Regions from separate parts of the Homo sapiens genome. Here all the other regions are linked to region 1. Evidence: promoter capture Hi-C in 16 types of primary human blood cells and fetal thymus (Javierre and others, 2016). All regions are on one chromosome and are shown on one strand. Each heading gives the region's core, a stretch centred on a gene start or on the middle of the fragment in contact. The rest is flanking DNA. Distances are from core to core; before and after follow the strand shown. Region 1 holds the start of RAMP1 (receptor activity modifying protein 1). Region 2 has its middle 15 kb from the start of TRAF3IP1. Region 3 overlaps PER2 (period circadian regulator 2). Region 4 has its middle 3.6 kb from the start of LINC02610. Region 5 has its middle 12 kb from the start of ILKAP. Region 6 overlaps ILKAP (ILK associated serine/threonine phosphatase). Region 7 overlaps ILKAP (ILK associated serine/threonine phosphatase).

Region 1 (2,915 bases), core at 241-2,740:
TGTTCCGGGTGGCTCCTGTATTGTGGCGCTCATGTTATTGAGAGTCTTAGAGGTCACCCCCTAGATTCACCAATTGAAGGGCAGGGCTTGTCGATCTAACAGTGTCTTGCACATAGGGACACAAATGTCTGTTAAATGAAGAAAGTAGGGATGCCAGGCCACCCAATGGGGTGTATCTCCTAGGGTTCAAGAACAAGGGCTAATCAAGTCAAGAGAATGTGTGCCCTCCCCCACCATCTCACCCCTCACTCTCAGAACACTTGGGGCCCCTGCACAGGTGGTAGGCATGCTGGCCCTGAGTGCCCTCCCAGCCTGTGTTAGAAGAACCAGTGGATGACCTCGCTGTCAGCTGTCTCCCCTTCTCTGAGCTTACTGCAGGTGGCAGCAGCCTCTCAGCCACAGACTGTTCCCTTTCCTAGGAGAAAACGATGGTCACTCAGCAATGCTGTGCGCTTGCAGCTTCCACCACAAAAGAGACAGCTGTGGCCGCAGCACCAGGGTGGTGATTCTTCCCCCTCCAAGGGCAGTGGTGCATTCCTTAGCACAAGTATAAATTTACTGTTGCTAAGAGTTCTCGGAACAGGATAATACAAGAAGGAACCACTGCAAGTGAAATCCAGCCACCAGTAATGCCGAGAGGCCAGGCCTGTGCCTCCCAAAACCTGCTCCTCCGCAGGCTTCCCCGGCCCATCTCCAGAGCGCCCTCCTCTCACCACTTTACATAAACGAATGTACCCAAGATCCCCCATCAGTTTTCCATGCAGCTGCCAGAGTGCCACCAAAGCAAACCTCATCTCAAGACTCTGTGGCCAGGCCCTCACAACCTCCTGCCAGGCTCTCGCTACCTACCCATCAACAGCAAGACTCCCAGGCCATCTCAATCCCCCCAAAGAGCCCTGTTCCTCCAGCCCCACGGCTTCTGTTCACCTGCCGTGCTGTCCCCGCCTCTGCCCACCCACTCATCCTGCAGATCTGGAGCAGCATTCCAGGGCCTGGTAAGTGTGCGCCATTTTGGGTTACTACGGGTCTCGCCAGGCGCGGTGGCGAGTTTTGCCCCCCACGCTCCCCAGCGCCTGCACCTGGGCGGAGAGGTAGATAAGGCTGGGAGATCTTAGCCTTTTGCAAGGCAAACACCAGGCAGGAACGCCCAGAACCTCGGAGGAGGAGGAGGGGAAGATCCCCAGGTGGAGACCAAGGTGCCCCTCACGCTGAGTCGTCTAGGAGACCCTCCCTAGTTTAAAAAGTGTTTATTTGCTCGGAGAACATTTCAGGAGGCCTTCCTGGGACCCCAAGTGTGCCGCCCCCCGGGAGGGGCCTGGAGACGCCCGCGCGGCCCCCCTGCAAAGTTTTACCGGCCCTGGGCGCCCCCGGCCCTGGCACCCACGCGGGGAGCCGCAGTGGGCCGGGCCGCGCGGCCGCCGCCTCCCACCGCTCCCGCGCCCGCTCCCGCCCCCGGCGCGTCTCCTCCGGGCCCGCGCCGCGGCGGGCTCAGTCCTCAGCGGGGCGCGTGGCGAGCGGACTCGACTCGGCACCGCTGTGCACCATGGCCCGGGCCCTGTGCCGCCTCCCGCGGCGCGGCCTCTGGCTGCTCCTGGGTGAGTAGGTCCAGGGGTCCCGGCCGAGCTCCCTTCCCCTGGCCAGCCGGTGTCCTCTAGGGGAGAGGAGGGGAGCGGGTGGGAGCGGGTGGGAGCGGGTGGGGGCGGGCGCCGCGGGCGCACAGATCCGCTGCCCTTGAACGCGGGCCGCCCCGGTTCCAGGCGGGAGGCCCCAGGGCACAGGGGAGGCGGAGGGCGCGGACCGGTGTTGCGCTTCTCGCCGGGGAAGGGACGGCTTTGGGGACGTCGGAGAGCGGGCATTCTGGAAAGCGTGGGGTGAGTCAGCCCTGCACACTGGAGAACTAGTTTTCAGAAGGAAAAACAGGACGCGGGGTTCCCCAGCCCCGCACCTCGTTTCTCAGGCTGTGCGCCGCGGTGACTGCCAGCGCAGGCTCCCTTCCCTAGGCCGTCCCGCGTTGCAAAACCTGCAGACGGGCACCTTGCAGAAGACGCAGTGTTCGGGAATCAGAACCACAGCCGGTTTGTATGGAAATTAGTCAACACTGACAATCTGTCGCCTGCAGCAGTTGCTTGTTTGCAAATCACGTCTTTTGCAGAAATGAGGCCAGCCCTTTTCGGGACACTTCCATCGCTTTTTTTCTTTTTTCTTTTGGTTTGCTTGTTAACTTGGCACTTTTGGCTAATAGAAATTTAAAGAAGGACGGGTCCCTTGGTGAAGTGGTGGAACACGTTTGGCTTTCCACTTGGAGGGAGAAGTGGAGATTAGCGGCAGCCTCATGGCCACAGGAACTGGCCACACACTCGGCAAGAAACGGTGCTGTTCACTTCCCTTGTCTGTAATGTGTTCCTAAAATGCTAACTCAAGCCCCTTCTAAACCGCTTTGGCTATTGCATTATTCCGTGTATTTAGCTACCTTTTAACGGAAACTGTGAATAGGTTACTGGCGTGGGAGAACCCAGTGTCCCTGGGAAGGCCGGAGCAGTTGTTTCTGGTATGTGTGGCCTTTCCCCGGAAACAGTGATGTTGGTCAGAGGCACCTGCCGCACAAGACCTCTTTGGCGCTGGCACTGGGCAAGCAGGGACCACCGGCGCTGTTGTAGCTGGGGGAGTGGTTCGTGGCCCAGCGAGGAGAGGGGCCAGGGCTTCTTGGGAGCCATGGATTTCTGTTCCCTATTTGTAAACCTCTCCAAGGGGTGGCAGATCTGCATAGAATCCTCAGAGGCCGATATAATATAATCTGAAAGCGGATCTTGCCACTTTAGAGTTTTGGCTGAAGTTACGTGGAAAGCAGAATCTCGCAGTAATTTTATTCTCTCCATTTGGCTTGACATGGCCTTCACTGTTTTCATTTACTAAGA
Region 2 (2,915 bases), core at 248-2,747, 450 kb after region 1:
AGCTCGGCCATGGCTCTCCAGTGAACTCCCCCGTCCTTTCTTCCTGGAAAATTTCCAGGACCCCATCTGAAGCGTCCCCTCCCAGGACTGACTCTGGTTTGTCTCTTTGCTGGGTTAGGTAGGAGGAAGGCTAGTGGGATGACCATAGCTGATTTTTGTCATCTACTGCTCAGTCTGGATTCCCCACTTCCTCTGCTAGCACCTCTGCTGCGCTTGGGCACCCACCTGGCAGGAGGACACAAACCCTCATCCCAGCCACTACACGCTCTTCAGGCTGCAACTGCTGTGCTTGTCCATTTCCCACCAAAACTGGGCAGGAGCGTGCCAAGTGATGCCCCAGAAGCCAGCTGTGTGCCAGGGTGATTCTCCTCCACCCCGGTTCCAGCAGCCCTTCCTGCTCTTGAGGATCAGAGCCAGTCACCCCTGCTGGGACACCGACTCCTTTCCTTGCTTGCTCGTCTTTTGGCACAGAGCCTGAGTGACCAGTGACAGCCATCGCTTATTGTCCACTGGATCCCCTGGTGGCAGTGTTCCCCCTCTAGAGAACAGGCCTCTAGACCTGCAAAGCACAACATGGAGGGGACGAGAAGTTCAAATTCACCAACTGGATCCCTGGAGGTCATGGTTGGGGGCTGTTCCTGCTTCTGCTCCTGGGTTCCCAGACCCATGCCTTTCATCAGCTGGAGACAGCAATTTATGATGGTCACTGATTTAGGGTATATTTTGTGTCTTAAAGGATGGAATCCCATCCTCAAAGGGTATTTTCTCCTCAGCAGAGCTAACAAGAGGACCACTCCATCACTCACCCAGATTGGCAGCATCTGAACGGCATGGTAAGGAATGGGCCCAGTGGAGCCCACGGTCATGTACCCAACACCATAGATCCTTTGCTGTAAAGTGAGTCTTTTTGGTCCAAAGCAATGTTATGTGGTATTCTATATCCATCGATCAAACATTTTATAAACCTCCAGATAGTGTTCGTAAGGGCAGGAAAGACAAATCCACACTTGGGATATCCAAATCCACACTTTGGGTCAGTCAAAATGAATCACTGCCTCACCTTTAGGGCAATATAATTGAGTTTAAGTCCAATGTAATCAACCTTCCACCTAGTGGCCAGTTGAGTTCCTCCCGGTGGCACTCTGCTGGGAGCTCAGCTTTGGTGTCTTGCTGTTAAGCTGGATGTTTAGCAGTTGCTGGAACTAACTCAGCCTTGGCGAGTTGGAGGCCATACTGTCAGGCCCACACCATCCTGCAACCCTGCCACCACTGCTACTCACTGAATGGCCTATGACAGAGGCAGGCTGACTCCGAACGGCCAAAGCATCTTCCTACATGGCTGCTGGGTGCCTTTTCCATGGTGGTGCTCTCTGGTGGCTGTTAGCAGGGATACAGAGACCTTCACATGCCTGTCCACTCCCATGGTCCTAGCTGCATGCATGACCCTTCCACTAAACTCCTGGTCCCCAACCTTTGAATTTTCCAGGCCCAGAGCAGCAACAGCCGTCTTTTGCCGCTGTCCATGGGTCTGAACATATTCTTATGCCAAGCCACTTCTCTTTCTACACAAAATGGAGAGCTACGTGTACTGCCTAAGCATGGTGGGCAGAACGGTGGGCCCCCACACACGCCCATGTCTGGAACCTGTACATCTGTTTTGGTACAGGGTAAAAGGGACTTTGCAGATGTCATTACATTGAGGATCTTGAGATGGGAACATTATCCTGGATTATCTGGGTGGCCCAATGTAATCATAAATGTCCTTATAAGTGAAAGAGGGAGGCCGGGTGTGGTGGCTCACGCCTGTAACCCTAGCACTTTCAGAGGCTGAGGCGGGTGGATCACCTGAGGTCAGGAGTTCGAGACCAGCCTGACCAACATGGTGAAACCCTCTCTCTACTAAAAATACAAAAAAAATTAGCTGGGCCTGGTGGCGGGCACCTGTAATCCCAGCTGCTCGGGAGGCTGAGGCAAGAGAATCACTTGAACCCAGGAGGTGGAGGTTGCAGTGAGCCAAGATCGCACAATCGCACTCCAGCCTGGGCAACAGAGCGAAATTCCATCTCAAAAAAAAAAAAAAAAAAAAAAGTGGAAGAGGGAGCCAGGAGGGCCAAAGTCCGAGAAGAAGGCGTGGCCATAGAAACAGACGTTAAAATGATGTCGTTTCTGGAAAGGGTGCATGAGCCAGAGAATGCAGGTAGCTTCTAGAAGCTGAAAAAGGAGAAGAAATGGATTCTCCCCTAGAGCCTCCAGAAGGATTACAGCCCTGACCACACCTTGACTTCAGCCCAGTAACACCCAGTTTCAGCTCTGACCTCCAGAATTGTAAGAGATTCCATTTGTGTTGTTTTAAACTCCCAAGTTTTTGGAAATTGGTTACAGCAGCAACAATGAACTAATACACCAAGTTTCTGTCCATGGGGAGATTGGGAGAGGCAGTCTGTCAGCACTGCCTTTCAGGGAGGCCCCGGAGTGAGGCTGCAGTGCAGCAGCTATCTATTTTTAGGCATTTTTTGCATCCCACACTGAGCCAACCCATGCATGAACCAAGCTCGGCCTATTTCTTCCTCCACTAGGTGGTCATAAGTGACACCGCCACCCAACACAGCAGTGATGAAGGTGAGGGACCTCCAGTGGTGCAACAGAGGCAGATGATAGGAGGGTCTTGTGCAGTTTATCTGTGGCTCTGGCCCTGCATAAGCCCAGTGCTGGATGTGCCCTTTCATCTTATCATAGATTTCTGTCGAGCATGCCTGACCTATGCCCTGGAGGCCCTGGCAGAGCCCGGCTCAAGGCAGGCAGCTCTAGTGGTGTGATCACCGCTTGGTGTCTTCCGCTCTGCTAGGGTGCAGAGGCATACCAGCATCTGTCTTCCTTTGCTGCAGATAGCGTGGCCTTACTCCAGAACCCCCAGG
Region 3 (2,915 bases), core at 229-2,728, 420 kb after region 1:
AAGACTGCCTAGGCCATTCCCACAAAGAGAGACACCAAAAGATTTGTGAACTTGTAGAAAGAGGCTCAACCTCATTAGCATCAGGAAAATGCAAAGGACGAGGTTATCTTGCCCATCAGGTTGCCAAAAATTAACAGGACTGATCACACTCAGCGTTGCTCAGGTGGAGAAGAGTGGCTCTTGTGTGTGGTGGTGTAGTAATAGGGTATTTCTGGAGAGAAATTTGAGTTCCCAGCAACATTTATAATCTGCATACTCTTCCCACCTCCAGGAATCCATTGCAGAGAAGTGCTTATTTATGTGCTCAGAGATGTGTGAGCACTGAATATAAAAACCTGGGAAGAACCATCAACAGGGAGGCTACGCATCCTGTCCACGATCATCCTGGCCAGGAGCCAGCCTCCAATTCCAGACTGGTCCCCTGCCTCCACCTGGCCCTGCTATGGTTAACACAGCATCTAGAGCGATCCTGGTGAAGGGGCTTAGCTTACGCCCGGCCCGTGCTCAGACCCTTGCTCAGAGCACAATTCTAGTGTGCACAAGGGCCAAAGGCTCTGCAAGTCTAGCTCCTGCAATCTCCTGGGCATGTCCTGTTAACTGCCCACCCCTCAGCCCCAGCCCTGTGTGCTCTGACCACAGAGACTCTGCACTTGCTGCTCCCTCGTGCCCACAGCCCTCTTCTTGCAGATGCCTGGGCAGCCTGCATGAACAGCACCGTCTCCCCACCAGCTCCTTCTCTGTGCCTCCACCGCCGCTCTGTGGGCTTTCCTCGCCAGCACTGAGGGGCTGGGCTGTTTACTGCCTGCCTCCCCTCTGGGACCTAAGCTCCATGGGGGCAGGGGTTTGCGTTGGTCAATGCTGGATCCCCAGGGCCTGGCACGTACTGTTGAAGACACAAACCTGGGACATCCATACTATGAATACTATACACCCACTAAAAGGATAGAGGCCAGAAAGACTGATGTGGGGAGAGTCTCAGACATAGATGAACAAGTCCAAGAACAATAAATAACAACAACAATAAAAAGGACAGATGGCACTCAGGCAGGGCCTGCCCGGTGCCAGCAGTTTCCCACTGACTGACTTGCCCTTATTCGCTTAGCACTGAGGGCTGGCACTGGGGCAGACAACAGAGCAGACATCTTTCCTGCCCTCAGGGAGCTTACATTAGGGGGAAACAGACAATAAACAAGAAACTAGAATATACAGTAGAGTAGGCAACTAGCAAGTGGGAATTGAGGGGCTGGGAGTGACATTTCAATGAGGGTGGCCCCAGGTGTAGGTGGCATTTGACAAGGACCTTGCGCACGAGCCCTCGTGTGTGAACTGACTCAGGGTCCCTGGGCTTCGCTCTCTCAGGCTTGCAGCCACGTGCTTCAGCAGGTCTTTCTGGCTTCACACCTGAGGCTGGCACTGGGCATCTCTGGCTCTGCCTGCCCTGTGTGGACTCGGATGACGTGCCACACCACTGTGGGGGCCCTTGCTGCTCCTCACTGTCCTGCCTGCTGCCAAAGGGTCTGATGAGGCAGCTGGATAGGAGGGAGAGCTCGCTTGCTGGACAGGAGGCAAGGAGGAGCTGGCAGAAAATGCCCCCTCCCTCTCTCCCTCAAATGGACCTTTCTGAAGTTGTCTTTCTTTCCTTCCTTCCTGTTTTGGCACAGCCTTTCTGAAGAGGTCCCAAGGGGGTGAGCACCCAGCTGGATGTCTCTGTAAGGCAGAGCCTCATCTCAGCAGGGTGTCGTCTTGTGTGTGCTTTCCAGACTTTTCTTCCTTACCTCCCTTTTCCTTTTCTACTGCTACCCTGGGACTGCAATTCCCAGTAAAGTGCTCACCTCAGACTCCATTCTCAAGAGAGCCTGAAGGCAGACCTGAAGAGAGTGGAGAGTGAGCTACCAGAGGAAGAACATTCTAGGCAGGGGGACAGCACACACAAAGGCCCTGCGGCAGGCAAGCACCTGACCTGTCTGAGGAAGGTGCACGAGGCTGGAGCAGAGCGGGCAGCGGTAGGAGGGCGGCAGCAAGGCCAGATCACGGAGTGCCTTGCGGGGGCAGTCAGAACTCCGATAGGGAACTGTGGAGAGTTCTGTGCAACAAGATCTCACTTACACTTCAATGGAGTTGCAGGGTTGAGGCAAGGTGGAAGCAAGGAGACCTCTCAGGGTGCTCTTGCCATGGTTCAGTGGAGCTGCCAAGGGGCCGCCCAGGGTACCAAGGGCATTCTCTCACTCCTGACCCCTCAACACCCTGGACACCACCCATCTCATCCCCACAGCCCTCCCCCAGATAAGCAGCTGGTCCTTTCTGCTCTGAGTGAGTCATTAAGGTGATCAGAGGCAGCAGCAGAGTGGTTAAGGGCACAGGTCCTGGGTGGCCTGGGTTTCAGCTGGGTTCCACCACCTCCTATGTGATCTCGGACAAGTTCCTTAACCTCCCTGAGCCTTGTGTCCTCATTTGTGAGATGGGGTAACAGTAGTTCCTGCCTCCTACTGGTTGTTAGAAGGATTAAATGACACAACCCATGCAAGATATCTGGAATGTAATATTAGCTTATCACTGCTAATCACTACAGAAAAACAGACGGCGGCTGGGCGCGGTGGCTCACACCTGTAATCCCAGCATTTTGGGAGGCTGAGGCGGTGGATCACCCGAGGTCAGGAGTTCGCAACCAGCCAGACCAATATGGTGAAACCCGTCTCTACTAAAAATACAAAAATTAGCCAGGCGTCATGGTGTGTGCCTGTAGTCCCAGCTACCTGGGAGGCTGAGACAGGAGAATTGCTTGAACCCAGGAGGTGGAGGCTGCAGTAAGCCAAGATTGCACCACTGCACTCCAACCTGGGCAACAGAGCAAGACTCTATCTCAAAAAAAAAAAAAAAAGAGAGAGAAAACGAAAAAGAAAAACAGATGGGCAACA
Region 4 (2,915 bases), core at 229-2,728, 380 kb after region 1:
CGTGCAGAGACTTGGTGGTGCATAACGGATATTTTTTAACTTGGCGAGATGTGTTTCTCAATCCTGCGGCTTTGGTGACAGTGTGCAGACAGCAATGATAGCAAATAATGTACGAATGTTTTTTGCATTCAAAGGACATCCACATCTGTTGGAAGACTTTGAGTTTTTGTTCTTAGATAACCCACTTTATTTGAATGTGTTAAGTGAAATGATACTTGTACTCCCCCTACCCCTTTGTCAACTGCTGTGAATGCTGTATGGTGTGTGTTCTCTTCTGTTACTGATATGTAAGTGTGGCAATGTGAACTGAAGCTGATGGGCTGAGAACATGGACTGAGCTTGTGGTGTGCTTTGCAGGAGGACTTGGAAGCAGAGTTCAGCAGTGAACTCTGGTGTCTCAAAGAAGGGTAGAAGTTCTAATGTCTGTTAGCTACCCATAAGAATGCTGTTTGCTGCAGTTCTGTGTCCTGTGCTTGGATGCTTTTTATAAGAGTTGTCATTGTTGGAAATTCTTAAATAAAACTGATTTAAAAAAAAAAAACCAAAAATCTAAGTAAAGGGGTCGGAACTACATCTCCCAGGAGGCCCCGCGGCTCGCCTCTGGCGGGGCGGGGCTGGAGGGGGCGTGGTCAAGGCCTCGGCTCCTCCGAGCGCCTCCCAGCTCACGGCGCCCCCCGAACCCGGCTCCAAGGGACTCGGTATTCCCCAGCGCCGGCTCCGGGCAGTCCCGGAAGGGCTCAAGGGCTGGGCGACTGGCTGATCGAGACCGTCCGGGTCCTGGCTCTCGGGTCACTTGCAGAGGCCTGAGCAGAGCGTAGGGAGGGCTGGAAGGGAGGAGCCCCGGGGGGCGGCGGTGCTGAACCGGGTAGAGTCTTGAAGGTCACGGTCAGGACTGGAGTGGGAGGGGAGTCAGAGGCCTGCTGCGGAGGCCCAGGTTAGAAACGAGGCTGCCTTGGACTCGGTCGGTGGCAAAGAAGACGACACGTGGAGGCAGGGCTTAGAAGTAGAGCTCCGCCGGGCTTGGTGGCTCACGCCTGTAATCCCAGCACTTTGGGAGGCCTAGGCGGGCAGATCACGAGGTCAGGCGATCGAGACCATCCTGGCTAACACGGTGAAACCCCGTCTCTACTAAAAATAGAAAAAATTAGCCGAGCGTGGTGGCTGGCGCCTGTAGTCCCAGCTACTTGGGAGGCTGAGGCAGGAGAATTGCTTGAACCCAGGAGGCGGAGGTTGCAGTGAGCCTAGATCTCCCCCACTGCACTCCAGCCTGGGCGACAGAGTGAGACTCCGTCTCAAAATAATAATAATAATAATAAATTAATAAATAAAAATAAAAAAGAAGAAGAAGTAGTGCTCATGGGCTTGACTGATAGGACGTGGGATGGCAGGAAGAGGGTGAACTTGAGGGTGACATCTAGATTTTTTTGCTCAATCCATGGGGTACCAAGAAGTGGTAATGCCTGAGGATCTGTTGTTTTGGTGGTGGTGTGAGCCCATCTGACATCTAAGTGCAGTCACTGAGTGGACAGGAGGATACAGAGGAGCCAGCCGCCTGGAGAGGGGCTTTGAATCAAGGGCATGGGATTGGCAAAACGGGCCAGATGGTGTCACTGGGTGTGGGGGCGGCAGGGAAGGCTGAGGACAGAGCCTTGGGAAGAACACGTCCAGTTGGAGGGCGGCAGGGAAGGCTGAGGACAGAGCCTTGGGAAGAACACGTCCAGTTGGAGGTCGGCAGGGAGGAGCATTGAGTACAGGGGACTGAGGATGGCCGATGAGGTAGAAAGAAGGCTGGTGTGGTGCCCTTGAGACTGGAGAAGGAGCCTCCAGATGGATGAGTCATAACCCACGAGAAGTGAAGCTGACATGCGGACATGCCCACTGGGTTGGGAAACATGCTCGTTACTAGAGATTTTGACTGTGCAGTTCCAGTGGAAGGGTGGACAATAGCTTGATTGGAAAGGAATGAAGAGGAATGGGATGCGTGGAAGTGGAGGCAGTAAGTGTAGATGACGCTTTCAAGGAATTTTGCTTTAGAGCATTGAGACAGAGGCTAACAGTATGTCACATCCAGGGAGGTTCTTCCGAGTAAAGGTATTCATATTACAGCCCGTTTGTAGGTTAATGAGAATGATCCAGAAGGGAGGAGAAGCTAATGGTGCAGTGGAGAGCAGAGTCCCTGAGCAGGTGAGCAGGGATGGGGGCCCATGCCCATGTCGGAAGCGGGCGCCACACTGCTTCATGATGGAAGGCAGAACGCCTGGGCCAGGGTGCAGGCAGGTGTCACAGAGAATGTCCTTCATGACCACATCCTAGTTCCCAGAACCTGCGAATATGCTACTTTACATGGCAAAAGGGAGTTTGCAAATGTGATTAAGAATTAAGCTAAAGACCTTCATACAGGGAGATTATCCTGGATTCTCCAGGGGGCTGGTGTCATCACAAGGATCTTTAAAAGTAGAAGTAAGGAGGAGACGTGACCAAGGAAGAAGGGTCAGAGAGACGCAATGCTTCCGAGGAACTCTGAGGATGGAGGAAGGGACCATCCTCCAAGGAATGTGGGTGGCCCCTGAATGAAGAGGCAGGAGAAGGCACACAGCCCTGCCTGCCAACACCTTGATCTTAGCCCAGTGAATCCTGACAGACTTCTAACCCGTGGAACTGCAAGACAATAATCGTGTGTTTGAAGCCACCAAGAGTGTGGTCGTTGGTTTTGGCAGCCATAGAAAAGTAATACAGTGGGTCAGGGATCCGGGTGGGAAGGAGACAGCCCTCAGAGAAGGGATCCGGGTGGGAAGGAGACAGCCCTTAGAGAAGGGATCCGGGTGGGAAGGAGACAGCCCTCAGAGAAGGGCTTGTGGGGAGCCTGGGGGTGCTGGGAGAGGAGCTGGTGTGAAACAACCAGCTGGCTGGGAAGC
Region 5 (2,915 bases), core at 108-2,607, 360 kb after region 1:
GTCTCTTTTTATAGTTTTTGTCTTGCAATCCGTCTTATCTAAGTATCACTACTCCTGCTCTTTTTTCAGTTCCATGCATATCTGTTTCCATCCTTTTATTTTCAGTCTATGTGTGTCTTTATAGGTGAATAGTGTTTTATGTAGGCAACAGACCATTTGGTCTTGTTTTTTAATCCATTCAGCCACTCTATGTCTTTTGATTGGAGTGTTTAGTCTATTTACATTCAATGTTATTATTGATAAGTAAGGACATACTCCTGCCATTTTGTTGTGTTCTAGCTGCTTTTGGTTTTCTCTTCCTTCTTTCCCTCCTTCCTGTCTCCCCCACACCCTTTTTTGGAGACAGTCTTGCTCTGTTTTCCAGACTGGAGTGCAGTGGTGCAGTCATGGCTCACTGCAGCCTTGACCTCTTGGGCTCAAGTGACCCTCCTGTCTCAACCACCTGAGTAGCTGGGACTACAGGTGTGTGATATCACATCTGACTAATTTTTTTATTTTTCCGTAGAGATGGGCTCTTGCTTTGTTGTCCAGGCTAGTCTTGAACTCTTGGACTCAGGCAGTCCTCCCACTCTGGCCTCCAAAATGCTGGAATTACAGGCATGAGCCAACACACCCAGCCCTGTCTTCCTTTTATTACCAGTGAGTTTTGTGCCTTCAGATGATTTTTTATTGCTCATTACTGTTCTTTTCTTTCAACAAAAGGGATTGATGAACTCTCTTTAGCATTTCTTGTAGGACTGGTCTGATGTTGATGAAATACCTCAGCTTTTCTTTGTCTGGGAAAGTCTTTATTTCTCCTTCGTGTTTGAAGGATATTTTCACCAGATTTACTATTCTAGGGTAAAAGGTTGTTTTTTTGTTTTGTTTTGTTTTTTTCTTCAGTACTTTAAATATACCATGCCACTCTCTCCTGGCCTGTAAGGTTTCCACTGAAAAGTCTGCTGCCGGACATGTTGGAGATTCATTGTATGTTGTTTGTTTTCTTTTATCTTGCTGTTTTTAGGATCATTTCTTTATCCTTGATCTTTGGGAGTTTGATTATTAAATGCCTTGAGGTAGTCTACTTTGGGTTAAATCTTCTTAGTGTTCTATAACCTTCTTATACTTGAATATTGATATCTTTCTCTAGTTTTGGGAATTTCTCTGTTATTATCCCTTTGAATAAGCTTTCTACTCCTATCTCTCTCTCTACCTCCTCTTTAAGGACAATAACTCTGACATTTGCCCTTTTGAGGCTATTTTCTAGATCTTTAAGGCATTCTTCATTCTGTTTCGTTCTTTTTTCTTTTGTCTCCTCTGACTGTATTTTCAAATAGCTTGTATTCAAGCTCACGAATTCTTTCTTCTGCTTTATCAGTTCTGCTATTAAGAGACTCTGATACCTTCTTCAGTATGTCAACTGTATTTTTCAACTCCAGAATTTCTGCTTCTTTTTAATTGTTTCAACTTCTCTGTTAAATTTATCTGATAGGATTCTGAATTCATTTTCTGTGTTATCCTGAATTTCTTTGAGTTTCCTAAAAAATGGCTATTTTGAATTATCTGTCTGAAAGCTTACATATGTCTGTCTTTCCGGGATTGGTCTATGGTGCCTTTTTAGTTCGTTTAGTGAGGTCATGTTTTCCTGGATGGTCTTGATGCTTATGGATGTTCATCAGTGTCTAGGCATTGAATAGTTAGGTATTTATTGTAGTCTTCGCATTCTGGGTTTGTTTGTACCTGTCCTTCTTGGGGAGGCTTTCCAGGTATTTGATGAGACTTAGGTGTTGTGATCTATGTTTTTGGTCACTGCAGCTGTAGCTGCATTAGGTACTACTCCAAGCCCAGTAACACTGTGGTTCTTGCAGACTCGTAGAGGATCTAAGATCTGGAGGAATTCCCTGGATTACCAGGTAGAGACTCTTGTTCCCTTCCCTTACTTTTTCCCAAACAAACAAAGTCTCTCACTCTGTGTTGAGATGCCTGGAGCTGGGGAAAGGTAACACAAACACCCCTGTGGCCACCACCACTGGGAGTGTACTGGGTCAGACCTGAAGCCGGCACAGCACTGGTTCTTGCCCGATGCCTGCTATAACTGCTACCTAGCTACCATCTGTGTTCACTCAAGGCCCTAGGGCTCTATGATCAGCAGGTGGCAATGCAAGCCAGGCTTGTGTCCTTACCTTGAGATTGCAAATTCCCCCAGGCCCCAGGTGAGTCCTGGGATCCAGGGTCTGGAAGCAGAAACCATAGAAATCTACTGTTGCTCTATACTACTGCAGCTGAGCTGGTGCCAAAACCACCAAACAAAGTCCTTCCCACTCTTCCCCAGGCAGAGGAGTCTCTTCTTATGTCCACCACCACCACAGGCCCACAGAGGGTACTGCCGTTGATGTTTATTTAAGGCCCAAGGGCTCTTCAGTTAGCTTGTGGTGAATGCTGCCAGCCCTGGAACTCATCCTTCAGGAAGTGGGCTCCCCTCTGGCCCAGGGTAGGTCCAGAGATGCCATCTCAAGCCAAGGCCTAGAATCAGGGACCCCAAGAGCCTGCTTGGTGCTCTTCCCCATTGTAGCTGAACTGGTACCTAAGTTCAAGAGAAAGTCCCCTTTACTCTTCCCTCTGCTTTTCTCAAGCAGTAGGGGGCCCTCCTCATAGCCACCACAGCTGTGAATGTCCTGGTCACAGCTGAAACCAGCATGTCTCAGAGTCTCACTCAAGGCCCATGGCTGTACTACCTGGTTACCACTGCTGATTATTCAGATTCCAAGGGCTCTTTCATCAGCAGATGATGAATCCTGCCAAGACTGGGTCCTTCCCTTCAAGGCAGTGAGTTCCCTTCTGGCCCAGGGTGTGTCTAGAAATGTCATCCGGGAGCTAGGGCCTGGAATGAGGGCCTCATGACTCTGCCTGGTGCCCTATCCTACTGTGGCTGAGCT
Region 6 (2,915 bases), core at 289-2,788, 330 kb after region 1:
CAAGTTACACAACTGACTACAAATTTCAACGGCTTTTTCCAGGCTTAGGGAAGCTGCCTACTAAGCTAAATCACGTAATTCAAAGCACTAATTGACAAACTGCAAACAAAGATTGGAAGTCAGAGAGAGACTAGGTGGTCAAAAAACTAACCATTCACTGCAGAAGGCTAAGAAAAAAACCACCTGTATTTTTTAACTCTTGAGGAACAAATGTAGGTTTCCTATCTGATCAAAGGTAGGATCAGAGATAGATGTACATGAAAAGTAGGAGAAAGCACAGAGAAACTTGGAAATTCATTTGCAAAAAGGGAACCCTACTTATTTCTTAAATACAGACATAAAAAGAAAGTATTATTAGAAAGCTGAAACTGGTTTTGCTCTGGGTTGTTTTAAAATATGAAGTCTAATACATTTGTTTTCAAATTGTCTGAAAACCTTTACAAACTTTCTTTTCCACAAGCTCTTCACTGCCATTCTTCTCTTCCTCGGAGGTTTTTCTCTTTGCTCCTTTCCCTTCAGTCTTTACCATCTGGGATATTGATGTGGCAAGAGAACCTGGAAATAAAGTAAAAGCCAGACAGAAACACAGCTGTAGACTGTTGGAAAAAGTCACTAGTAGACTGGGCTTCATCCTAGCACTCAAAGACAAGGTCATTTGAAGCAAGGACTGGCAGACACAGGCAGACCCAGGAGTTGTGTCTTCATGGTTGGCGGGGAGGGGGAGGGGGGTCCCACAGTGAGAGAACATAAAGTTAAGATCCAGGCCCTGAGTCAAACTGACCCTGCTGAAGGGGTTTGTAAAAGACTTTTCCCAGTGGTAAAAATACATGGTTTTTTTTGGCCTGTAGCATATACATGTTTTTATATCCACAGGCTCTTAGTGTTAAACAAACACTTACAAAATCTGTAAGCAAACTAACATATCCTAATCACGTTCCAAAAAGTAACAAGTACTCGAAAAGGCTCAAAATGAGGTAAATGGCAGCCTTTAAGAACTGTAATACATCCTTTCAAAGGCAAAATAAGGCTGCCACAGCTGTTCCCACTAGCAAAAGGATGAATCTGTACTCAAAGCTAAGGGAATCTGCAGTGTATGTGTTTGAAATGAGAAAAGTCAAGTTTCAAAGAGGTGTGCAACTTAATCTTTCAGTCTCAGCTGTCTTCACCCGTGCGTAACATGGTAAGAATACTGTCATCTCAGAGGGATGTTTGAAAATGGGTCAGGACAAGTAGGAAGAGCATTTGTCACAGTGCCTAACACATCAATCTCCAATAAGGGCAGCTGCTGTCCTAATAAATGACTTGAAATGTTCTCTGCATTTAGGTATAAAAGTATGCAACAGCCAGATGCAGTGGCACATGCCTGCAGTCACAGCTACTTCTGGAGACTGAGGCAGAAGGATCACTTCAGCCCAGGCATTTGAGACCTGCCTGGGCAAAGTAGTAAGACGTTTCTCTTTAAAAAAAAAAAAAAAAAAAAAAAAAAAAGGATGCAAGTACTTATTTACTTACTCAACCTACTCTTTGCCAGACATTTCTTCTTCTTTTTGTTTTTGACACAGGGTCTCATTCTGTCACACAGACTAGAATGCAGTGGCATGATCACAGTTTACTGCAGCCTCCAACTCCTGTGTTCAAGTGATCCTTCCATCTCAGCCTCCTGAGCAGCTGGGACTGAAAGCAGGAACCACTACACCCGGCTAATTTTTTAATTTTTTTGGTAAACACAAGGTGTCTTTTTTTTTTTTTTGAGACGGAGTCTACTCTGTCGCCCAGGCTCGAGTGCAGTGACGCAACGTCAGCTCACTACAACCTCCACCTCCAGGGTTCAAGCAATTCTCCTGTCTCAGCCTACAGGAGTGCACCATCACACCCAGCTAATTTTTGTATTTTTGTATTTTTAGTAGAGACGGAGTTTCACCATGTTGGGTAGGTTGGTCTTGAACCGCCTGTGTCAGACATTTCTTAGTGCTGAGGAAAAAGTAATGAAAATGTTCCTGCCCTCAAGAAGCGTAAATTAGTTGCACAAGGCCCTATTTCTGCAACAGTATAACATAATACACATATGCACCCTGCATAAGGCAACACAGATGTTTCCAACAGTATCTCTCCCAAAGGTCCCCATTAGTGTCCTGTGGCTTACTGTATGGGTTCCAGTTTTCCCCATATGGATGTGAAACTTTCTTCCTTTAAAATTCCAAAACAGATGGCCAGGTGTGGTGGTTCACACCTGTCATCCCAGCACTTTGGGAGGCTGAGATGGGCAGATCATCTAAGGTCAGAAGGTCAAGACAAGCCTGACCAACATGGCGAAACCCGGTCTCTAATTAAAATACAAAAAATTAGCCGGGCATGGTAGCGCCTGTAATCCCAGCTACTCGGGAGGCTGAGGCACGAGACTCACTGGAACCCAGGAGGCGGAGGCTGCAGTGAGCTGAGATCTCGCCACTGCGCTCCAGCCTAGGCAACAGAGCAAGGCTCCATCTCAAAAAAAAAAAAAAGAAAAAGAAAAAGGCCAGGCGCAGCGGCTCATGCCTGTAATCCCAGCACTTTGGGAGGCAGAGGCAGGCGGATCATGAGGTCAAGAGATTGAGACCATCCTGGCCAACATGGTGAAACCCCGTCTCTACTGAAAATACAAAAAATTAGCTGGGTGTGGTGGCAGGTGCCTATAGTCCCAGCTACTCGGGAGGCTTAGACAGGAACTTGAACCCGGGAAGTAGAGGTTGCAGTGAGCTGAGATCGCAACACTGCACTCCAGCCTGCCAACAGAGTGAGACTGTCTTAAAAAAAAAAAAAGAAAAAGAAAAAGAAAAAAAGAAAAATAATAAAATTTCAAAATAAAGACACCTTACAGGTTTGTTATTGACTTCTAAGCAAATTACACTGTAGTCTGAGAATGTAGTCTGTACAAG
Region 7 (2,915 bases), core at 200-2,699, 310 kb after region 1:
GCACTGGGGCGGGACTCAGAGCAGCACTCGGAGGCCCACTCGCCACAGTGCCACTAGTGTCTCTGGCCTCCCCTCATCAACTCAGTGCTGTGAATCCTGCTTCCGGGAGCTTTCCTTGACCCCTCCTGCTACTGCCTTAGTTCAGCCCTTCATCATCAGGCCAGGGCTGCTGCACCGCTGCTCACAGGCCTCCCTAGCCCCATAATGCCATCTTTAACCATCACCTGTTGAGGCCCTGCCCTCAGCCAGCACGGTGCCGTACCCTTAGGCATGGAGAACAGGAGATGAACAGGTGAACTGTCTCTTTCTCAACCGATCCTGGCTCTGTGTAAAAACCTATGATTCTCCACCAATGATCAACTAAAGTTCAAACTCTCCAGCATGGGGCTGAGGGCCGGCCCTTCAGGATCTGCCCCCAAAGTACCCTGCTATCACTTTCCCACCACTCCCTCCGTCCCTCAAGCGCCTGTCTGGCCATGCTTTCACACTGTCACATTTTAATGCCTTACTGTGTGTTCCCTCTGCCAGGAAGCCCCTTCTCCTCTCTCTGACAGGGATAACCCCTTCCCCTACTGCCAAAGACCCCAGCACACAGCACATGCCTAGGACACACTGGACTGCAGCTGCCCATCCCCATGTGTCCCCCCCTACCACTGTGGACCCCACCAGAGCAGAAACCACATTTTGTTTATCTCTGCACCCCCAGGGCCTAGCACCATGCACACCTTCCCTCCAACAAAGGCTTGATAGAAACTGGAAGTGAGGAAGAGAAATAAACCCACATGCACACACACCTGTGCCTCTTATAGGGCCTTTTACCTGTCATTGGGGGTCAGCTGGCAGCGTCTGATGTCGGGCACAGAGGTGACACCGCAGCGCTTGTACTGCCCGTCCCCAATGGAGCGTGACACCTCTAGCACGCCCAAAACACGCCCATCCCTAAAATGAGAGGAAAAACATTTCAGACTCTACCTGACAGATTATGGGTCCACAGTACTTAGAATCTCACCTTAAAAGCAGAGAATGGAAGTGTGAAAGATACAGACTGTGGAATTCACATTATTAACCACTACTGACATTTCTTGATCTCAAATATGCAGGGGTGTCTAGGCCATTAACTGCTGCCCTGGGGTAGGGACCCTGCCCAGCTGCACATGGGTGGGAACAGCACCTCCAGTGGCTGCCAAGCAGTGCTGCCCAGCTTAACCTTCGACAGGACTCAGCAGTTCTCATCACACACCTAGGTCCCAACTCCAGAATCGGATTTGACTGACTGGGTAAGGGAGCCTGGCAGTGTTTTGTATCTTAAAGCTCCTTGAGTGTTTCCCACATGCAGCCAGGGTTAACAATAGCTAGAACAGAGGGATATTTTGCATTTCAATCTAATTAGATTTGGAAAATCCCTGAAAGTGGCTATTCCTGGATTGTGGAGCACATGTCCTTTGCATCAAGTACAGGTACGGTTTAATGTTAATGTAAATGACAGTATCCTGCATAGCATCATAGTTTCACCCATTCTATTTTAGGTGAGGGGATATGGAGGAGATGGGGCAGTGATCTACAAATGGGAAGAGACATCTAAGGGACAGTCCTATTGCCAAGGAAAAACCATTTGGGGAAGCCTACTGCCCCAAAGAACAATTCTGGTCTAGGCTGCAGCACTGTCACCTTAGGCAGCTGCAAGCTCTCTCCCCTTCAGGCCCTTGTTTGTAAAGGCAAGGCAGAGAACCATACTCAACGTGTGAGAGAGCACTCCGCAAATGCCACGGCTGCGCATGGGCGTTTAAGATCACCACGGGGCTCCCAAATCATGGACCAAGCAAGTTCAGGAGATGCGGTGCAGATGGCTGCACATGGTAGGAAATGCTTCCTGGGCTGCTGTCCTAAAGGCAGAATTCAGCCTGGCCCTTCTCTGGGCCCCAGTTACCCTCTCAGTGGCTCACAGGTCAGTATCCGTAACAAACATGTTTTTTCTTCTTCAAAGACTTCTGCTGGTATCTGCAAAAAGCCTAGCGATCTTCTAGGATACAAACTGTTAAATAGCAAGAGGAAACAGTGCACAGGGGAAGAGCTGAGGACTGAAGATGGGTGGGGGCACCTGGCCTTAAGAGTGCCACTTCAGGAAGCAGCTCACAGTGTAAGTACTATGAAAAGCCAACAAAGTACCTCTCCCATGACCAGGTGACTGGGTGTCTGGTGTGGCTTCCGGCCATCCCAGTCATAAATCCATCCTGTTTCAACAAGATTAAGATTACAATCACCACGTCTGCAATGGCAGGTCCCAGAAGACCAAGTAGCTACCAGCAACTTCTGGTACTGCACAACACAGTACAGACAATGTGAAACAATCTCTAAGTCTAAAGAAGGACAATATGAGCAGCACAGGAACTGCCATCTCTCATTCTCTCTTTTTTTTTTTAAGAGACAGGGTCTCCCTCTGTTGCCCAGGCTGGAGGGCAGTGGTGCAATCACTCGCTGGGCTCAAGTGATCCTCCCACCTCAGCCTCCTGAGTAGCTAGAACTACAGGTGTCACCAAGTCCAGGTAAATAAAAAAAAAATTTTTTTTGTACAGATGGGGTGTTGCCCAGGCTGGTCCTTAAACAATTAGCCTCAAGCAGTCCTCCCACCTCAGCCTCCCAAAGTGCTGAGATTACAGGCGTAATGTGGCCTCATTCTTGTTTTCAAAGTTCCATATACAGAGTAGTAATCTTACATTCACTGAACTGCTAGAGTAACAGGAGAAAGCACAATGGACAGAATGACAGATCCCAGGAAACGCGTTTGGTAACGATGAGGCAAGCTGCCCTGGCACTATGCCTACACTCAATGCGATGTCCTACGTAGGATGTGCACATTCAAATACCTGTCAGTTCAACAAAGGCCAATCACAGAGTCCCATCTCTGAGATCGAGCA

Evidence for each region. Contacts are between HindIII fragments. The CHiCAGO score rates a contact against its expected background, and 5 or more counts as called.
Region 2: a fragment that was not itself captured here is called in contact with the fragment with the promoter of RAMP1 in region 1 in 1 of 17 cell types (M0 macrophages); the score reaches 5.5 in M0 macrophages.
Region 3: a fragment that was not itself captured here is called in contact with the fragment with the promoter of RAMP1 in region 1 in 8 of 17 cell types (megakaryocytes, M0 macrophages, endothelial precursors and 5 more); the score reaches 9.6 in megakaryocytes.
Region 4: a fragment that was not itself captured here is called in contact with the fragment with the promoter of RAMP1 in region 1 in 8 of 17 cell types (megakaryocytes, M2 macrophages, M1 macrophages and 5 more); the score reaches 10.0 in megakaryocytes.
Region 5: a fragment that was not itself captured here is called in contact with the fragment with the promoter of RAMP1 in region 1 in 1 of 17 cell types (endothelial precursors); the score reaches 5.2 in endothelial precursors.
Region 6: a fragment that was not itself captured here is called in contact with the fragment with the promoter of RAMP1 in region 1 in 9 of 17 cell types (M2 macrophages, megakaryocytes, M0 macrophages and 6 more); the score reaches 8.9 in M2 macrophages.
Region 7: a contact is called between a fragment that was not itself captured here and the fragment with the promoter of RAMP1 in region 1, in 9 of 17 cell types (megakaryocytes, M2 macrophages, M0 macrophages and 6 more). The highest score is 12.0, in megakaryocytes.

Annotation. Positions count from the first base shown.
Region 1 is chr2:237,858,133-237,861,047 of GRCh38, forward strand. It overlaps RAMP1 (receptor activity modifying protein 1), which reads left to right and starts at 1,491. Exons shown (of 3, transcript NM_005855.4): 1 at 1,491-1,595. The coding sequence starts at 1,544. RefSeq lists enhancers at 1-91, 92-878. The HindIII fragment of the contact is 3,458 bases long and covers 1-2,915 here.
Region 2 is chr2:238,304,023-238,306,937 of GRCh38, forward strand. No RefSeq gene overlaps it. Among named protein-coding and RNA genes, the nearest start is that of TRAF3IP1, 15 kb to the right of the region's middle. The HindIII fragment of the contact is 7,227 bases long and covers 1-2,915 here.
Region 3 is chr2:238,281,580-238,284,494 of GRCh38, forward strand. The region is part of intron 1 of PER2 (period circadian regulator 2); the gene reads right to left. Among named protein-coding and RNA genes, the nearest start is that of PER2, 5.6 kb to the right of the region's middle. RefSeq lists enhancers at 677-1,177, 2,025-2,524. The HindIII fragment of the contact is 3,450 bases long and covers 1-2,915 here.
Region 4 is chr2:238,233,814-238,236,728 of GRCh38, forward strand. It overlaps the pseudogene TARDBPP3. Among named protein-coding and RNA genes, the nearest start is that of LINC02610, 3.6 kb to the left of the region's middle. RefSeq lists an enhancer at 429-930 and silencers at 631-760, 911-1,000. The HindIII fragment of the contact is 6,291 bases long and covers 1-2,915 here.
Region 5 is chr2:238,213,776-238,216,690 of GRCh38, forward strand. No RefSeq gene overlaps it. Among named protein-coding and RNA genes, the nearest start is that of ILKAP, 12 kb to the left of the region's middle. RefSeq lists a silencer at 2,442-2,694. The HindIII fragment of the contact is 387 bases long and covers 1,165-1,551 here.
Region 6 is chr2:238,189,418-238,192,332 of GRCh38, forward strand. ILKAP (ILK associated serine/threonine phosphatase) reads right to left here. Exons shown (of 12, transcript NM_030768.3): 4 at 436-555. Among named protein-coding and RNA genes, the nearest start is that of ILKAP, 13 kb to the right of the region's middle. The HindIII fragment of the contact is 4,260 bases long and covers 1-2,915 here.
Region 7 is chr2:238,172,715-238,175,629 of GRCh38, forward strand. It overlaps ILKAP (ILK associated serine/threonine phosphatase), which reads right to left. Exons shown (of 12, transcript NM_030768.3): 10 at 820-939. Among named protein-coding and RNA genes, the nearest start is that of ERFE, 15 kb to the left of the region's middle. The HindIII fragment of the contact is 8,961 bases long and covers 1-2,915 here.